7 separate regions of the Homo sapiens genome follow, and regions 1, 2, 4, 5, 6 and 7 are each linked to region 3. The links are contacts of gene promoters, found by promoter capture Hi-C in blood cells and fetal thymus (Javierre and others, 2016). All regions are on one chromosome and are shown on one strand. The core of a region is centred on a gene start or on the middle of the fragment in contact, and the rest is flanking DNA. Distances in the headings are between cores, read along the strand shown. Region 1 overlaps C7orf33 (chromosome 7 open reading frame 33). Region 2 has its middle 17 kb from the start of C7orf33. Region 3 holds the start of EZH2 (enhancer of zeste 2 polycomb repressive complex 2 subunit). Region 4 overlaps LOC124901766 (a long non-coding RNA gene). Region 5 has its middle 100 kb from the start of C7orf33. Region 6 has its middle 50 kb from the start of C7orf33. Region 7 has its middle 81 kb from the start of C7orf33.

What was found. The method cuts DNA at HindIII sites, captures the fragments that hold promoters and counts their contacts. A CHiCAGO score of 5 or more calls a contact.
Region 1: a contact is called between a fragment that was not itself captured here and the fragment with the promoter of EZH2 in region 3, in 1 of 17 cell types (activated CD4 T cells). The highest score is 6.4, in activated CD4 T cells.
Region 2: a fragment that was not itself captured here is called in contact with the fragment with the promoter of EZH2 in region 3 in 6 of 17 cell types (activated CD4 T cells, naive CD8 T cells, monocytes and 3 more); the score reaches 10.5 in activated CD4 T cells.
Region 4: a contact is called between a fragment that was not itself captured here and the fragment with the promoter of EZH2 in region 3, in 4 of 17 cell types (activated CD4 T cells, non-activated CD4 T cells, naive CD4 T cells and 1 more). The highest score is 7.6, in activated CD4 T cells.
Region 5: a fragment that was not itself captured here is called in contact with the fragment with the promoter of EZH2 in region 3 in 2 of 17 cell types (monocytes and M0 macrophages); the score reaches 5.5 in monocytes.
Region 6: a contact is called between a fragment that was not itself captured here and the fragment with the promoter of EZH2 in region 3, in 3 of 17 cell types (activated CD4 T cells, naive CD4 T cells and naive CD8 T cells). The highest score is 7.9, in activated CD4 T cells.
Region 7: a contact is called between a fragment that was not itself captured here and the fragment with the promoter of EZH2 in region 3, in 10 of 17 cell types (activated CD4 T cells, naive CD4 T cells, monocytes and 7 more). The highest score is 10.0, in activated CD4 T cells.

What each region holds. Positions count from the first base shown.
Region 1 is chr7:148,592,925-148,595,624 of GRCh38, reverse strand. All of the region lies in intron 1 of C7orf33 (chromosome 7 open reading frame 33), which reads right to left. Among named protein-coding and RNA genes, the nearest start is that of C7orf33, 3.5 kb to the right of the region's middle. RefSeq lists a silencer at 1,502-1,702. The HindIII fragment of the contact is 5,446 bases long and covers 1-2,700 here.
Region 2 is chr7:148,572,580-148,575,279 of GRCh38, reverse strand. No RefSeq gene overlaps it. Among named protein-coding and RNA genes, the nearest start is that of C7orf33, 17 kb to the left of the region's middle. RefSeq lists an enhancer at 2,470-2,700. The HindIII fragment of the contact is 3,907 bases long and covers 1-2,700 here.
Region 3 is chr7:148,882,842-148,885,541 of GRCh38, reverse strand. EZH2 (enhancer of zeste 2 polycomb repressive complex 2 subunit) reads left to right here and starts at 1,251. Exons shown (of 20, transcript NM_004456.5): 1 at 1,251-1,378. It overlaps LOC124901767 (a long non-coding RNA gene), which reads right to left and starts at 353. Exons shown (of 2, transcript XR_007060579.1): 1 at 59-353. RefSeq lists silencers at 618-847, 968-1,337, 1,498-2,087 and an enhancer at 1,306-1,997. The HindIII fragment of the contact is 14,290 bases long and covers 1-2,700 here.
Region 4 is chr7:148,556,025-148,558,724 of GRCh38, reverse strand. All of the region lies in intron 2 of LOC124901766 (a long non-coding RNA gene), which reads left to right. Among named protein-coding and RNA genes, the nearest start is that of C7orf33, 33 kb to the left of the region's middle. The HindIII fragment of the contact is 1,788 bases long and covers 451-2,238 here.
Region 5 is chr7:148,485,924-148,488,623 of GRCh38, reverse strand. No RefSeq gene overlaps it. Among named protein-coding and RNA genes, the nearest start is that of C7orf33, 100 kb to the left of the region's middle. The HindIII fragment of the contact is 380 bases long and covers 1,142-1,521 here.
Region 6 is chr7:148,539,077-148,541,776 of GRCh38, reverse strand. No RefSeq gene overlaps it. Among named protein-coding and RNA genes, the nearest start is that of C7orf33, 50 kb to the left of the region's middle. RefSeq lists a silencer at 1,453-1,653. The HindIII fragment of the contact is 314 bases long and covers 1,233-1,546 here.
Region 7 is chr7:148,508,888-148,511,587 of GRCh38, reverse strand. No RefSeq gene overlaps it. Among named protein-coding and RNA genes, the nearest start is that of C7orf33, 81 kb to the left of the region's middle. The HindIII fragment of the contact is 1,529 bases long and covers 583-2,111 here.

The DNA of each region.
Region 1 (2,700 bases), core at 138-2,637, 290 kb after region 3:
TATATATAATATATATAATATGTATATCTATATAATATAGATCTATATTATATATATTATATAGCTATATGTTATATATAATACAGATCTATATTATATATACTATAGCTATATAATATATAATATAGATCTATAGTATATATAATATATAATAGCATATATATAGCTATATAATATATATCTATATTATATAGATATATCTATATAATATAGATCTATATTATCTATGATATATCTATATAATAGAGATCTATATTATATTTGATATATCTATATAATATAGATCTATATTATATAGATATATCTATATTATATATTATATATCTATATAATATATATCTATATAATATAGATATCTCTATATTATACATGATATATATCTATATAATATATATCCATATAATATAGATATTATATAATATACTCAGGAGGCTGAAGCAGGAGGATCGATCACTTGAACCCAGGAGGTCAAGGCTGCAGTGAGCCGTGAATGTGCCACTGCACTCCAGCCTGTCTCAAAAAATACAAAACAAACAAAAGAAAACCTGACCTGGTGAATATTCAGAAACTATTAAGTGAAAAGCTGGTGCTCATTGTTAGGTGGTCAGGACTTTCTGCTTCTTAAGAGTCCCTAATGATTCCCAGGGCCAAGCATGTTCAGATGGGGACACTGTCTTGTGGCTCACTGTTGTCTCATGTAAGCAGGAGCGGCTGGGAGTGCAGGCTGCAGGCTGTACTTGCTGTTAGGTTCCTGAACCATAACATTAACATAGACATTGTCCTTCTTTTGAATAGAAGACAAATGATCCACAGTGGTACCATGCCAAACCTCACTCTGTAAGGATATATTGGACTGAAATATATTGAATATATTCCCAAATTCAAATATATTGAATTTCATCATATTTTCCCTAAACCATTTGGTTTCACATTTCCCTAAACAATTTGGTTGGATTATATCTCCCTACAAACTGTCACCCTCCTTCTGCCAAGCAAATGAAATGATAACTGTTCTGCATTTTACTTGGGTGTCATCTTAGTACCCTTACTGGTAAGTTGGTATCATCTTTCCTCTTACTTCTTGTATTAGGCTGTTTTTGCATTGCTGTAAAATACCTAAGGCTGGGTAATTTATAAAGAAAAGAGGTTGGTCGGGCGCGGTGGTTCACGCCTGTAATCCCAGCACTTTGGGAGGCCGAGGCGGGCAGATCACAATGTCAGGAGATCGAGACCATCCTGGCTAACATGGTGAAACCCCGTCTCTACTAAAAAATACAAAAAATTAGCCTGGCATGGAGGCGGATGCCTGTAGTCCCAGCTACTCGAGAGGCTGAGGCAGGAGAATGGCACGAACCCGGGAGGCGGAGCTTGCAGTGAGCCAAGATCGTACCACTGCACTCCAGCCTGGGCGACAGAGCGAAGACTCTGTCTCAGAAAAAAAAAAAAAAAAAAAGAAAAGAGGTTTAATTGGCTCATGGTTCTGCAGGCTGTACAGGAAACATGGCGTCTGCTCGGCTTCTGGGGAGGCCTCAAGGAGCTTTCACTCATGACGGAAGGCAAAGTAGAAGCAGGCACATCGAACAGCAAAAGTGAGAGCAAGAAAGCAAGAGAAGGTGCCACACACTTAAACAACCCGATCTTGTGAGAACTCACTCACTATCGCAAGGACAGCACCAAGAGGATGGCGCTAAACTATTCATGACAAATCCACCCCCATGATCCAATCACCTCTCATTAGGCCCCACCTCCAACACTAGGGATCACATTCCAGCATGACACTTAGCCGGGCAAATATTCAACCATGTCACTTCTTTTCCAGCAGGCATCTCTCTGGGCTCTGACCCTTTCCTGTCAATCCCAGTTGGGAGTCTCCGTTTCTACAATCCCCTCCAAACAGGCTGTATCCCCCGACCCTGGCTTCATGCTCAGCCTTTCCTAAATGCATTAAACACCCAGTCAGAGGAAAAGCATTTTGACTTCAAATTAACATTTAAAATAAAAACTAACTTTAAAACATGTTATTATGAAGGCAATAGAGATTCTCTATTTAAAGAAATTCAGGCCAGTTGCAGTGGCTCACACCTGTAATCCCAGCACTTTGGGAGGCTGAGGCAAGCAGATGATTTGAGGTCAGGAGTTCGAGACCAGCCTGGCCAACATGGTGAAACCTCGACTCTACTAAAAATACAAAAAAATTAGCTGGGAGTGGTGGCAGGTGCCTGTAATTCCCGCTACTTGGGAGGCTAAGGCAGGAGAATTACTTGAATCCAGGAGGCGGATGTTGCAGTGAGCCAAGATTGAGCCATTGCACTCCAGCCTGGGTAACAAGAGCAAGACTCCATCTCAAAATGAATAACAAAAATAAAGAAATTCAGAACATTCTGAGCTTTGGAAAAATAATACGTAACTCATAGTGCCATCCATAGACAACCACTTTGAGACTTTGCTGTATCTTCCAGTGATCTAATTAGATTTAAATCGTGTCGGCCAGGCATGTTGGCTCATGCCTGTAATCCCAGGACTTTGGGAGGTGAGGTGGGTGGATCACTTGAGGTCAGCAGTTTAAGACCAGCCTGGTGAACATGATGAAACCCTGTATCTACTAAAAATACAAAAATTAGTAGGATGTGGTGGTGGGTGCCTGTAATCCCAGCTACTGGGGAGGGTGAGGCAGGAGAATCATTAGAACTCAGGAGGTGG
Region 2 (2,700 bases), core at 1-2,500, 310 kb after region 3:
CACCATATTGGCCAGGCTCGTCTCAAACTCCTGACTTCAAGTGATCTGCCTGCCTTGGCCTCCCGAAGTGCTGGGATTATAGGTGTGAGCCACCGCGCCCAGCCCACTTTTACATGAATTCTTGTCTGGACACTTTCAATAGGGAATACAATATGGTTTCCACCATACCTAAAGCTGTCGATGCCAACTGGCCAGGTCATTTGGTCTCCTCCTGGCAGTGGACAGCAGGCAATGAGGGAGCCAGTATGCTGACAGGTGACAGGTTGTCATGAGAAGGCAGGCTTACTGCTACACAACGGGGGTAGATAACTTAAGCTAAGACATTTTCTTAGGTGTTTGAAGTGAGAGAACCAGATGTGTTAATTTTGTAATCAGAGTTTAAGTGTCTAAGGGAATTTAATTTTCTAAGTCATGTTAAACATTTAAAGATGATTTGGTCAGGTAAGAGTTCATCGAAATATTAATAAAGGGACAAAAAGAAGTGGCTGTTCTTTTTCATAAAAAATTAGTTAGGTTTATAAATAAAATAGCCAGATTTAAAAATAGAGCTTCAAGTTTTAAAATAAATTAGGTTTCTAATTCATAGCTAATACAGTTGACTTGAAGAAAATAAATATCTTTAGAAATTGCTTTTCAGGTTGGAGAGTCCTTTTTAAACAGCAGAAGCTCATTATATTTCAAAAAAATAAATATTGAATGAATAAATTCCAGGCTTAACTTTATGCTTATAAGTTTCTGTAGTTATATTCTTCATTGTAAGTGTGAATTATCAAAAATATCCAGCAAGGTATATAAAGTACTCAAGTCAATATCAAAATGTCAAGCCTGAACTAAAAATTAGAAGCACTCAAACCAAAATTGACAAATGGGATCTAATTAAACTAAAGAGCTTCTGCACAGCCAAAGAAACTATCATTAGAGTGAATAGGCAACCTACAGAATGGGAGAAAATGTTTGCAATCTACCCATCTGACAAAGGTCTAATATCCAGAATTTACTAGGAGCTTAAACATATTTACAAGAAAAAACGAACAACCCCATCAAAAAGTGGGCAAAGAATATGAACAGACACTTCTCAAAAGAAGACATTTCTGCAGTCAACAAACATATGAAAAAAAGCTCAACATCACTGATCATCAGAGAAATGCAAATCAAAACCACAATGAGATACCATCTCATGCCAGTCAGAATGGCGATTATTAAAAAGTCAGGAAACAACAGATGCTGGAGAGGATGTGGAGAAATAGGAACTCTTTTACACTGTTGGTGGGAATGTAAATTAGTTCAACCATTGTGGAAGACAGTATGGTGGTTCCTCAAGGATGTAGAACCAGAAATACCATTTGACCCAGCAATCCCATTACTGGGTATATACCCAAAGGAATATAAATCATTCTACTATAAAGACACATGCACACATATGTTTCTTGCAGCACTATTTACAATAGCAAAGACATGGAACCATATGGCACATATACACCATGGAATACTATGCAGCCATGAAAAGGAATGAGATCATGTCCTTTGCAGGTACATGGATGAAGCTGGAAGCCATCAACCTCAGCAAACTAACACAGGAACAGAAAACCAAACACCTCATGTTCTCACTCATAAGTGGGAGTTGAACATTGAGAACATATGGGCACAGAGAGGGGAACAACTTACACTAGGGCCTGTTGGGGGTGGGGGGTGATGGGAAGGAACTTAGAGGACAGGTCAATAGGTGCAGCAAACCACCATGGCACACGTATGCCTATGTAACAAACCTGCACCTTCTGCACATGTATCCCATTTTTTTTTAGAAGACATAAAGAAAAAAAAATTAGAAGCACTCATAAATTATCCCAGGTACTCATTTACCAAACTAGGCAACTAATTACAGTTATGCTCATCAATGCATATAAAATAAGTAGTTCAACATTAAAATGAATCTATAAAAAGGTGCATCAATAATCATAAATGCAAGATATCATTACATCGCATTCTGGTAATCATCTGAGATAACTACAATTTTAAAATCTGGAATTTCACCTTGAAAGGTGAGATAAATACAGTTGAATATATTTTCAGGTGTGTCTGTTCCTAAGTGCAATTTTCAGTTTTACTGAAGAAAATGAAGGCAGAATTCAGAAAATGAAATACAGCAGTATTCATTTTATTACGAAAACAGGTAGTGAAAATTTTATTGGCATTTTCCTAACTGTATAAAACTTAGTAAAACACTTCATGCTTTAAGAAACATTTCTGTTCTTGATAAAAATTTAGGGCTTGAATGCTTATCTTTGGTAAATTACTTTTACCTTCTGATTATGATAACAGATCTCTCACAGCTTAAAGCAGAATTCCTCTCTATTTACTTAGGTCTTTGATTTTACAACAAAGTGAGGGCTGAATATAAATATTCTTACACGTCCCCCTTTCTCTGGGGAAGCAAAGGAGAATGAATTATAGGGGAGAAATGTGGAAGTATAAATATAACTCTGTCTAAATTATTTGGCAGTTATGTTAGTCTGTATTTTAAAAACCTAAAAAAAGTAAACATTCAAGTTTGTTCCTCAGTACATGAATTTTGAAGCAAATTTATAGTTTTTTTTTCCACAGAGAACCACGCATGTCGTATCTGTTAAATTTTGTTATGTAGTTATTCAGAAATATTGGAAAAATAGACCAGGTAAGCAAGTATAGGCAATCCTAAATTCT
Region 3 (2,700 bases), core at 2-2,501:
CTCCCAAAGTGCTGGGATTACAGGCGTGAGCCACCGCGCCTTGCAAATATCCTCACACTTTGCAGAGGCGGCAAGTGAACAGTGCTCATCTTGATAAAGGATTTTTAACACTGACACGTGCTTAGAACTACGAACAGTGGAAGGGTCTGAAATGGCAGCAATGTCGCCCTTTCACAGGTTTCTAGGGCGATAAGCACTGCAAGCTCGGCCAGCCAAAGTCCAGCGGTGGGGGAAAAAACGGCCAAGGCAGCAGCAGACATAATCAAACAGGGCCCGGGTCGGCGGCGGTGGCTCACGCCTGTAATCCCAGCACTTTGGGAGGCCGAGGCGGGCGGATCACCAGAAGTCGGGAGTTCGAGACCAGCCTGACCAAGACCCGTCTCTACTAAAAATAGAAAATTAGCCGGGCGTGGTGGCGCATGCCTGTAATCCAGCTACTCGGGAGGCTGAGGCATGAGAATCGCTTGAACCCGGAAGGCGGAGGTTGCGGTGAGTCGAGATCGCGCCATTGCACTCCAGCCTGGACAACCAGAGCGAAACTCCGTCTCAGGAGAAAAAAAAAAAAGTAGTAACGGGTCCGGCGGCAGCGCGCGGGCCGGGCGAGCGTCTCCCGGCAAACGCGGCGCCACAGCTGAGCCGACCTCCGGGGCCCGCGCCCTCCCCTCCCCGGGCACCACTAGGAGCGGCCAGCCCGGGCCTCGGCTCCGCGCGCGGGGAAACGAGCGCGGCGGTTAAAACCGTTACCACCCCCGAGTTTTGAACTGGTTCAAACTTGGCTTCCAGCACCCGCCCCGCCCCTCCCCCGCCCGGGAACTCTGCGGCGCCGGTTCCCGCCAAGAGCCGCCGGCGCTTCGTCCCGCCCTTCGGCCGGTTCCCGCCACCTATCCTCCCCGCCTCCCGTCCGCGGCGGGCTCCGGGCCCCCGCGATGTCTCCCGGTCCCCGCGTGCCTGCACACCGCCTTCCTGAGAGGCGCCGTGTGTTCAGCGAAAGAACAAAGAGACGGCGGCGGCGCTTCCACACGGCCAGTGGCGTCCCTTACAGCGAACCCCGCCGCCGCCCGCGCGCGCACGCGCTGCCAGTGCCCGCCCGCCCACGAGCCCTGAGCGCACTCTGCGTGGGGCTGGCTCGGCGCCTCCGAGCCCGGCGGGCCCTGTGATTGGACGGGCGCCCGCCTCGCGTCCCGCCAATCGGGGCGGCGCTTGATTGGGCTGGGGGGGCCAAATAAAAGCGATGGCGATTGGGCTGCCGCGTTTGGCGCTCGGTCCGGTCGCGTCCGACACCCGGTGGGACTCAGAAGGCAGTGGAGCCCCGGCGGCGGCGGCGGCGGCGCGCGGGGGCGACGCGCGGGAACAACGCGAGTCGGCGCGCGGGACGAAGGTAACGCGCCGCTGCGGGCGGCCCGGCCGGCGGGGCTCCGGGAGTGCGAACCGGGCGGCGGCGGCGGCGCCAGGACCTCCCCGCCACTGCTGTGCCGGTCCCGGGTATCGCCGAGCGGGGCTCACCGGGGCGCCGCGTTTGTAGGCGTGCGGGGGGTGGAGGGTGAGGGGAGAGCCCCCCTCCCCGGAAGGAGCTGTGAGCTTCGGGCTGGCCCGCGGGACCCTGCGAGTGAGGCAGCGCACACCCCTGGAGCTGCGGGGCGGGGGGCGTGTGGGGGGCTCCTTTCCCGGTGCTTGTCCTGGCCGGGGCGCCGGGGCCGGGGTCGGGGCGTTCCGGTGCCCGGTCCAGGGTGGCAGCTCGAGCCTCAAGTCTCCTTTGTGTGGCGCGGCCGCGGCGGGAGCGCCCGGGTGGGACGGGACAGACACAAGTTGGTGGGACCCAGCCGCCGAGTCCGCACTCAGACAAAGGACGGACTGTGTCTCCGGAGGGCTCGGCGCGAGGGGAAGGGGCATGACACCCGGGCCCGCCGGCGGGCGGGAGAGGGGCGTGGGGAGGCGCGGGCCGCTGCCGGGGTGGGCAGGGCTCGGCCCTCGCCTCGCGCACGCCCCCGGTCCCGGGCGCGCCGACCCCGGGCTGGGGCCGCGGCGCTCGCGGGACGACGTTCGCGGCGGGGAACTCGGAGTAGCTTCGCCTCTGACGTTTCCCCACGACGCACCCCGAAATCCCCCTGAGCTCCGGCGGTCGCGGGCTGCCCTCGCCGCCTGGTCTGGCTTTATGCTAAGTTTGAGGGAAGAGTCGAGCTGCTCTGCTCTCTATTGATTGTGTTTCTGGAGGGCGTCCTGTTGAATTCCCACTTCATTGTGTACATCCCCTTCCGTTCCCCCCAAAAATCTGTGCCACAGGGTTACTTTTTGAAAGCGGGAGGAATCGAGAAGCACGATCTTTTGGAAAACTTGGTGAACGCCTAGTGAGTTGCCACTTTCTAAAGAATCGTAATCCTTAAACATTACAAGCTGTTTTGGCCAACTTGTGTGATACATCTGAGAATGGCGACAGGTGCTAACGAAATCAACTGTCATTCAGCCAGATTATTCCCCAAATCCCGACGGGTTGAATGAGGATGAGGTGGTAGAAGTAGGTGATCAAAATAGAATGGCTATGACAAATGTGTGTTTAGATTATACGGTTAGCAGTTTCTTATTAATTGGTCTCGTTTTCTGTGAACAATAGCTTTGGTGATTCAGAAAAGACTGCATGGAGAAATGTTTGTTGCCTAAGAAATTTAACGTGTGCTGTCCACAGTTAAACTTCCTTTATCACAC
Region 4 (2,700 bases), core at 95-2,594, 330 kb after region 3:
GGAAATAGTGAGATACAGGAAACTATTGGTCAACAAAAACAACAACAAAAAACCCAAAACCCACAACATTTTTTTTATTAAATACGATTTTATTATTTATAAATTGAAAAAAATATTGAACCTAACACCTAACATCCCAGACCACATCACTATGAAAGTCACAGGAAATGGAGGTAATGGAGGAGGGCCAGGGAAGGTAGAATAAAAGTGAACTGATTCTCTTCTTGCCTGGAGGTTGGAAGTAGAGTAAGATAGAAATTAATTGACTGTAGGTTTTGTTATAAAATATTAAATTTAAGGATAACCTGAGAAAAATAGTAAAATAATGTAAACTTATCAATTAATAGTGAAAAAAAAGAACAAAGGAAAGCTAATTAAAAGCAGGAAAGAAGAGAATAAAAAAAGAAAGCACTCCCCACCTTTTTTTCCCAACATGGTGGATTGGAAGCTTTCAGCATGCCTCAGCCACTTGGAAATAGCAAGATGGTGCACAAAGATCAACTCTGTGAGTTTAATTCAAGAAGAAAAATGGAAATCCACCAGAATCATGAAGGACGCCCCAGATCCTGTGGAGGAGAATACTGGTAAACAGCCTCCATGATGGCATCCCACTGATTAAAGTTAGTGAAGCCCCCATGTGTGAGAGAGGCAGAGAACCTCCCTCTATGACTCACCTTTCCACCGGGGATCTCAGCAATCCAGGCTGAGGGAGAGCACTTTCATTCTTCCAAGCCCTGGAGCTAATGTGGGGACAGTGTTGTAGATGCTGAGGACAGACACCAGACAAAGCTATAGACATTTTTCCAGACCCAGGATCAAGAGCAGGACACCATTTTTAATCTGGAGGCATACAAAGTCAGCCATTATTTGGCGACCTAACAGCATAGTCATGCAGGAATTTTAGTCTTGGGCCGGAGATTGGAGCACCTCCTCTAGAGCAGGGTAGGAACCTCTACAGTCAGAACTGTGGAAAGCTCCTCAGCAGTAGGTTCTGGGATTGTGCTCTCTTCCAACACAAGTCTCCGGTGGGAGGAGAGCTTCTACAGCTGTAGTTTCTCCTGGGCAGTGAGACTTGTAGCTAGGGCCAGGTTGGTGACCACCTTGGTGGTCTGTGTGTGCCATTACTGTGTGCCCCAACTGCTCCTTTGAGATCATGGTGCAGTGGGGCCCTCTTTGCTTCACCCCTAGGCAGAAATCCAGGCACTCGGAGCACTTGCTTGTCTGGATCAGCCTGAGCCATATCCTTCATGGGCAGAAACCCTGGTACAAGGGGGCCCTCTCTGTTCCACACCCAGGCAGATCTCCAGGCATCTGGAGCACCTACTCTCCTGGATTAGGAATTTAGGCTGCCTCCATCTCTGTGCAGAGAACTTGGGGTCAAGGAAGTTTCCCAACTCCCTGCCTAGGCAAGCCTTTGGGCACTTGGCAACAGCTTACTGGATTCTCAGTTAGCACTGGTGCTTGTGCCTGCCATCAGGGACCGTAGGTGGACCTGCCTGGTCTGGCTTCACCAGTGTTGGCTCCCTACCCCCGCCCATGAAGGGGCTGAGCAGGGAGTCAGACCATTGTGCACTCCACAAATCAGCGCATTACCTGAGGCAACAGAGAAACTTCTCCCAGTAAACAAGGATCAAGTATATACCCAGTCATGTTGGCAGCAGCAGGCTCTTACCTATAAGTGCCATCTACAGCTTGTAGGTCAAACTGCATAGTCCAATATAAAACCTGCTGACAGAAGTGCATAGGGCTGTAGAAGCAAAGCCAAATGACCTCACCAAGCATTCTCTATAGTCACACCCACTAAAGAGTGGAGGGTGGGGGAGAAAGAAAGAAAAGAGTAGTAACAACAAAAAAATAACATTATGGGGGAAAAAAGAAAAAAAATCCTACCTTCATGAAAATAATTACAAAAATTAGAAGTGCCAGCATCTCTAGATAAGGAATCAATATAAAAATTCTGGCACCATCAAAAATCCGAATGTGGTGACACCACCAAAGGATCACACTAGCTTTCCAGCGATGGTCCCTAACTAAAATGGAAATGAAGAAATAGCTAATAAATTCAAAGCATGAATTACGAGGAAGCTCAATGAGATCCAAGACAAGGTTAATAATCAATATGAAGAAACTTCTAAAGCAATCCAGTAAATGATGGAAGAGGTAAACATCCTAAAAAGAAATCAGAGCTTCTGGAATTGAAAAACTCACTTAAGGAATTTCAAAATACAGTGGAAAGCTTTGTCAATAGACTGGACTGAGCAGAAGAATTTGAGAACTTGAAGACCGGTCTTTCAAATTAATTCAGTCAGACAAAAATAAAGAAAAAAGAATTTAAAAAAATGAACAATGTTCAAGAAATATGGGATTTTGTAAAGCAACCAAACATACAAATTATTGGCCTTCCTGAGAGAGAAGAAAAAGCAAACAACCTGGAAAACACATTTGAGGGAATAATTAAAGAAAAATTTTCTCATTTTGTTAGAGAGCTTGATATCCAGATACCAGAAATTCAGAGAAAACCTGCGAGGTACTATACAAAATGAACATCACCAAGGCATACTTGGTCACCCGACTGTCCAAAGACAATACTAAAGAAAAAAATCTTAAAGGCAGCTAGATAAAAAGGTTAGGTCACATACAAAAGGAATCCCATCAGGCTAACAGCAGACTTCTCAGCAGAAAGCTTACAAGCCAGGAGAG
Region 5 (2,700 bases), core at 82-2,581, 400 kb after region 3:
TGAACCCAGGAGGCGGAGCTTGCAGTGAGCCGAGATCGTGCCACTGCACTCCAGCCTGGACAACAGAGCCAGACTCCATCTCAAAAAACAACAACAACAAAAAAACAACAAAATTCCCCCTGAAGCAAAACAGAATTATTTAACCATGTATGCATGTATTTGCCCTTGACTGCAGTGTTGCTGAGTGTTTGAATCCTGTAGAAGAGAGGAACGTGGCCCTGTGTCCCACTTTATCCTGTGTCCAGGATGAAACCGACCCTGAAGGACATTTCCTCTTGTTTTTTCTCTTTATCCACACTGAGGGCCCAACAGCAAAAAGATGGATGCACTCACATTGCAGTGAGACCCACTGCTGATTTGGACACCTGCAGCTCTTTCTGGAGCTTAGTGAGATTCCTGGGGAGGGAGGAGGGTGCAGTTTGTGGTCCACCTTCTCTTTCACTGCTTCCGTCTTGGGGGAGCACTTTGAACTTCAGCTGTAGAAAGGGTTAATCCATTACTGGCTCTTTTCCAAAGCTCATGCGGAATGCTGTAGTGCATCAATAGGCCTGAAACACTCAAGTCTATGGTAAAAGAGAGGGAGCCAGAAGGGGCCTTAATGGAACAAGGCTGGATGTGGTTGAAAGGAAGCAAGTGTTCTGAGGAAGAGGCCTGATGGCTTCAGAAAGAGAAGTGTTTTCCCCTCTCGCCATAGGCATTGCCCTACGGCTCTCAGTAGAGTGGCTTAAACCAACCAATAGATATTACATCTATCCATATGATCATATATGATTCCAATGGTTTTATATATAGATGTAATCATATTGATATGATCATATATACATGATAATTCTATTTATGTGAATCTCAAATTTATATTTCTAGCCCTGTGTTCTTGATTTGTATAACCAACCACCTGCTTGCCTGCAGGCATCTCAAACATAATATGTCCACAATGGAACTCTTGGTTTGCAACTCCTCACCGTCTCCTGCAACTTGTTCTTCCTCCATCTCCAATCATTCAAGCCTAAAATCTTTGAGAGATCTTACATCTAGGGTATAATATAATTTAGTTAATACTTCACTTAATATTGGACTTTTAAGATGATACATATTCTTGGCTCTTATAAAATATACTTTAAATATCTTTGTGCATAAAGCTTTGTTTGCATTTCTGATTATGTCTTTTGAGTATTGAGAAAAATCAGTCTATTCCTGATTTGCTGAGCTCAGAGCAAAAGTAAAAATGTGTCTAGATATTTAAGTTATAAATCAAGCAAACAAATTGATAATTTATATAAGATATATTCTAGCCATCTACCTTGACAAATATACCTTCAAAATGGCCTGAAATACAAGGTTTGAATTTAGAATTTGTAGGTTCCTTGGAGTTCTGTAATGGAACATGCTGGCGTGGGGAGAACGGACCCCAGGCACTGACCCGGGGCCTGACCGCCTCCTCTTCCCACCCCCAGCTTTGTCTCTCACTGGGAGGGGGCTTGTGCGCATGCGTGTTGGCACCTCAGCCTGCACACTGAAGCTTCTAGGGCTGACCACACTTTCCCTTCCCATAAACCTTCACGCCTTGCTACCCTTTGGGTGATATGCTCAGGTCCTGGAAGCTGGCTTAGGACTGCTTGGGCAGGGAATTCCAGAGTTCCAGGAAGCTGGAGTGTGATCTAGGGGGATTGGTGAGGCATGGGCATGTTCCCTGATCTCTTCCTACTCCTTGCCTGGTGGGGAGATGACACCCGCGGCAGGGTGGGAAGGGAGGGGCTCTCCAAAGCGCAAGGCTAGGGAAAGGCCCCACTTCTGCAGCTTGAAAGTCAGTATGGTGGCCAGGCGCGGTGGCTCACCCCTGTAATGCCAGCACTTTGGGAGGCCGAGGTGGGCGGATCACAAGGTCAGGAGATTGAGACCATCCTGGCTAAGACGGTGAAATCCCGTCTCTACTAAAAATACAAAAAATTAGCTAGGCGTGGTGGCGGGTGCCTGTAGTCCCAGCTACTTGGGAGGCTGAGGCTGGAGAATGACGTGCACCCGGGAGGCGGAGCTTGCATTGAGCGGAGATGGCGCCACTGCACTCCAGCCTGGGCGACAGACTGAGACTCTGTCTCAAAAAAAAAAAAAAAAAAAAAAAAAAAAAGTCAGTATGGGCAGGAAGTCCTGGCTCTAAGCATATGATCAATTTCCGAGTTGCTTTCCAGAAAGATTAGACCAGTTTACCTGCCCATTTATTGAAGGGCTCCAGGTATCAAGAGAGTTTCCAGTGGTCTACTAGACACGTGACCTTGGGCAAGTTAAGCATCCTCTTCAGGACTCAGTTTCCCCATCTGTAAAACAACTTCTTTCTAGCTCTAACCTTCTCTGGCTCTCTGAAACCAAGCCCTGTGCTTTAGCCGTTCATGGCCTGAGTTTCTTAAACCTCCTTTAGTGTGTGGATGGGGGTCCCCCAGTGCTCTTATCCAAACACATATAGGTGCACACCATGGCTTGTCAGAATAACTTTCTACCAGACCAGGAGCTGGCACCCGGAACTACGCAGGTTTTCTTCCAGCTTCGGCAATCCATAACAATTTAAGAAAAACAGAGGCAGTTTGCTTGCAACAAGGGCAACTTTGCGTCCTCCTTTTAATTTTTCCTCTCCTTTAGCCATCTGTAATGAATATACGGCTATAAAACAAGGCAGTCACACCCTCTCTGGTTCCAGGAGCACTAAAT
Region 6 (2,700 bases), core at 140-2,639, 340 kb after region 3:
AACTTAGTTTCTAGACACTGTCTACCCTTCTTTCTCACTTCGTGTTATTTTATTGGCAAATGTATCTCTATTTAGGTTATTTTAAAACATGGAATCAACTCTGATGCTCTTTTTCTTTATACTTTTCCCAGGAAAAGAAGTTTAAATCAATAACTGAAATAAGTTTTCATGGTACCCAGAGATTTCACTTCCTGATAGCCTGCCTCATGTGAATTAACGTGTACAATGGAAGGTAGTTCTAGTGGAGATAATGAATTCCTCTCCAGAAAGGGAGCTTTCCCTCTTTTGGGGTACTGAGGGCACTCACGGAAAATAAAGGACCAGGGTTTTTTCTTCACCTCTAGAATTTTAATTATTTTAATTTAATTTATTTATTTATTTTGAGACAGAGTTTTGCTCTTGTCACCCAGGCTGGAGTGCAATGGCGCGATCTCACCTCACTGCGACCTCTGCCTCCCAGATTCAAGTGATTCTCCTGCCTTAGCCTCCCCCAGTAGCTGGGATAACAGGCGTGTGCCACCACACCCAGCTAATTTTTGTATTTTTAGTAGAGACAGGGTTTCACCATGTTGGCTAGGCTGTCCTTGAACTGCTGACCTCAGGTGATCCACCTACCTCGGCCTTGCAAGGTGCTGGGATTATAGGTGCGAGCCACCATGCCCGGCCACGGTAAATTTAAAAATTCAGTAGAATTTTAAAATAGTTGGACCAGAGAGGAAGCATGTTTTCAAACATGCCAAGGGAATCCATTTTGGATTTTTAATTTGGGGAATTTTCTCAGATCTGGAAAAGTTATTGTAAATCAAGGTTGAAGTAAAGTTGGTTTACATATTTTACGTATTTGCCTTTTGGAAAACACAATTTAGGACTTTAGGTCCATGTCTTTGTTTTCATACTGACAAAGAGGCTGTTTCTGAGACCTCAGTCCCCCACACATTGCAGGGGTATTGCTGGGCTCTCTTTCTCTGCGTTGTGAAAGGCCTCTTCAGGGAGCATGGAGAGCTGTGTTCTGCCTCCCTGCGCATTAGATGAGCGCCTAGAGGGTGCTGGCAGTGAGCTGCTGCGGAGCCTGACATGGGTTGCCTTTCTCCAGGCACAGCAGGCAGACTCCAAGCTATTTCTTACCCTGGCTGGGCCTTGAAAAAGCCCAGCCAGCCGCTGAAAAACTGAGCTGAGACATCGCTAGAGAGGCTGTGCGTGAGCAGCCAAAGGCTATTTGCTGAGCAGAAGCTTCTGGACGCTGACCAGCTGGACGTTGACCACACAGAACAGGAGTGGTCATTAGGCTCCTCAGCCTCCCTGGACCAATCAGCTCTGATGACAAGCGGGCAGGAGGCAGCTTGTGGGAACTGAGAACTGCTGAGATGATGCTGAGAACTGCTGAAGAAGAAGGGACAATAGAAACCCTTGCCCATGATTGTGTCTCCAGAGAGCATCCCAGACGCTGTCTGGAGCCCCAGAATTCTAGGTTTGGTTACCAGCACCATGGATGCAGTGGTCACAGGACTTCTATTCATCTGTATTGCCCCAGTAGGAAAACTAAGCTTGGCCCTGGCTGCACCCTGCAACCTCAGCACTCAGGAATCTGCTGCTCTGAGCTGAGTCACCAGACTTGGTACTCGAGACGTGAATCCTTTTGGGACAGGATTCCTAAATAGGGATCTTCTTTTAGGAGTTCCAGAACAGTTATTTGTAACACATAGAATGGACAAAAGATTAGAATCCAGAATACGTAAAAAAGATTCTTACCAATCTTTAAGAAAAAAATTTTTTTAAATAAATGAAAAAATCAATCACTAAAAAAAAGACATTTAAAAATAGGCAAAAGACATGAATGAACATTTCACAGAAGAAAAAACATAAATGGCCAATAAGTTTATGAAAAAATGTTCCACCTCATTAGCAAGTGGGAAAATATAAATTTTAAAGCCACTGGCCTGGTGAGATGACTCACGCCTCTGATCCCAGCGCTTTGGGAGGCCGAGGTGGGAGGATCGCTTGAGGCCCGGAAATGAAGGTTGCAGTGAGCTATGGACACACCACTGCACTCCAGCCTGGGTGGCAGAGCAAGACCCTGTCTCAAACAATAAAATAAAACCCACTAAGGGATATCAATTTACACTCAATTGGCAAAAAATAAAGTAAAATAATATAAAGTGTTGCTGAGGCTGTGAAGCAGAGGCCTCTCCCACAATGCTGTTAGGAGCATGAATAGGCACAACTGCATCAGAAGACAATTTTGCATCAATTAACAAAGTTGAATCTTCTAGCACCTCTGCAATTACACTGAGGAACATATTACAAGGACTATAATTGGCAGGAGTATGTATAGTATCCTTAGTTATAAGAGTAAAAATATAAAACAATGCAATATGTTCATTAACAGTGGTGGATAGGTACATTTTGGCGTATTCATACGGCAGAATACTATGCGCAGTGAAAATGGAGAAAGTATAGTTCCAAGAATCAATACTGGTGAATCTTAAAAACAAAAACAAAAAAACAAGTCATAGAAGAATGCATCCAGTGTGGTTCAATTTACATAAAGGCGAACAACAGACAAAAGTCAATAATGTATTGCTTAGAGATACGGGGTAGAATTGAAAGAAAAGTAAAAGATTAAATAACATGAAAATCAAGATAGTGGCTACCTATGGTGGAAGATGGAGAGTGAGGGGGTGTAATGGACATGCGTATGAA
Region 7 (2,700 bases), core at 98-2,597, 370 kb after region 3:
TGAGCCGAGATTGGGCCAGGGCACTCCAGCCTGGGTGACAGAGCGAGACTCCGTCTCAAAAAAACAAAAACAAAAACAAAACAAACAAACAAAAAACAAGAAAGACTTGCAAAATTTGAACACTGAGTCTGTATTTGATGATATGAAGTAATTATTACTACTTTTTTAGTTGTGATAATGGCATTTTGTTTTTTTAAACTCTTTATAATTCATAGATACATATTGAGATGTTTATAGATGAAATCATATGGTGTCTGAAATTTGCCTCAAAATAACACAAGATGGGGCAGATGTGAGTGACCACATCTCTGATGCAAATTTGACCATGATTTTCATCATTTTTGAAGCTGGGCCATGGTACCTGGGGTCCATTATATTATTATTTATATATGTTTGAAATTGTATAAAATAAAAACTAAATATGTTAATAAATAACAACATGCATTTACTTGTAGTGTAGTATATATTACATTACAGTTTGATTATTATGTATACAACCGCCTTCCCACTTTAAATCATTAGTCTCACCCCCTACTCCAACAAAACAGAAAGCAGAAAGCCTAAAAGTTAATGAGCTAAGCTTTTGCCTTAGGAAGTAGGAATCATAACAGTGAAATGAATTAAAAAATAATGAGGGAAGGAAAAAATGAAGATATAACAGCAGAAATTAAGGAAATAAACATGTAATACAGAGCAGCTTTGATATCATTAATAAAATTACCAAACCTCTTGGCTGGGCGCAGTGGCTCACTCCTGTAATCCCAGCACTTTGGGAGGCTGAGGCGGACGGATCACCTGAGGTCAGGTGTTCGAGACCAGCCTGGCCAACGTGGTGAAACTCTGTCTCTACTAAAAACACAAAAATTAGCCAGGTATGGTGGTGGGCGCCTGTAATCCCAGCTACTCGGGAGGCTGAGGCAGGAGAATCACTTGAACCCGGGAGGCGGAGGTTGCAGTGAGCCGAGATCATGCCACTGCACTCCAGCCTGGGTGACAGAGCGAGACTCTGTCTCAATAAATAAATAAATAACCAAACCTCAAACAAGGTTAATTGAAGAAAAATCAGAGAAGGCACAAATACACGATACCTGTACTAAAAAGGGAGGTGTAACTACAGTTGCAGCTGGTTACAAAGATAAGAGAATATCACAAACAACTTTTGCTAACATATTTGAAAACTCAGAGTAAATGGATATGGACCTAGAAAAATATGTGTCCAATGAATTTAAGATGAAGGAACTTGAATCGGTAAGTAGTTAATAATTTGCCTGCAAAAGAAACACCAAACCAAACAGAGGTGTCCTAACAAAACTTCAAAGAAATATTTTACTTGTAAAGAAACTCTCCTAAAAAATAGAAGGAAAACAATAACTCATTTTTCTGAGGATAATGTAATTTTAAAGCCAAAACTGCAAGGACAGCATGAAAGAGAAAAATCAGTCATTGATTTAGAACCCAATCCTAAATAAAATTTTAGTATACCTAATCTAGCAATGTAGCAATCATATACAGATACATGCATTCACAAATGTAAGCACAAACAAATTATTAAGCCCAATTATGCAAGATTGGTTGAATGTTAGGCAATATAAAAATTTTACTCATTATATCAAAATACTAAAAAAGAAATGATATATGATCATCTCAATATATAAAAAAGCATTTGAGAAAATTCAGCATCTATTTGGATTAGAAAACTCAACGCAGTAAAGATGTCAACTCTCAGCTGGGTGTGGTGGCTCACTCCTGTAATCCCAGCACTTTGGGAGGGTGAGACAGGTGGATCACAAGGTCAGGAGATCAAGACCAGCCTGGCCAACATGGTGAAACCCTGTCTCTACTAAAAATACAAAAATTAGCTGGGTGTGGTAGGGTGTACCTGTAATCCCAGCTGCTCAGGAGGCTGAGGCAGGAGAATCGCTTGAACCAGGGAGATGGACTTTGCAGTGAGCTGAGATTGCGCCACTGCACTCCAGCCTGGCGACAGAGTGAGACTCCATCTCAAAAAAAAAAAAAAAAAAAAAAAAAAAAGTGTCAATTCTCCCCAAACTGGTCTGTAAGTTTAATGCAGTTTCTGTCAGAATCCCAGATAGAATCTTTGTAGATAAGCTTATTCTATTATGGAAAGGCACAGGCCCTAAGCAATCTTGTGAAAGAAGAATAAAGTGGAAGGAAGGGACCACTCTACGCAACGTTAAGGCTTACTATATTACTATAGTAATCAAGACAATGTGGTATTGGCAGAGGGATAGATATGTATCAATGGACCAGAACAGATAACCCACAAAAAGACCCACAGAAATATGGCTAGTTGATTTTTGACAAAAATACAACAGCAGTTCCATGGAGGAAGGATAGTCTTTCAACAAATGGTGCTGGAGCCATTTGACATTCATGGTCAAAAAAAAAAAAAAAAAAAAAGAGTCTAATACCTTGGGTAAGTCTCACAGCTTATGCAAACATTAACTCAAAATGGATAAAAGACTTAATGTAAAATACAAAACTATAAAAATTTTGGAAAAAATTATAGCAGACAATTTTTGGGAACTAGATCTAGGCAAAGAATTCTTGGACTTGGCACCGAAAGCACAATCCATAAAAGGTTAAATTGATAAACTAGACCTCGTCAAAATTAAAAACGATTGCAGTGCAAAAGACCCCATGAAGAAGGTGAAAAGTCAAGCTACGGACTTGGAGAAG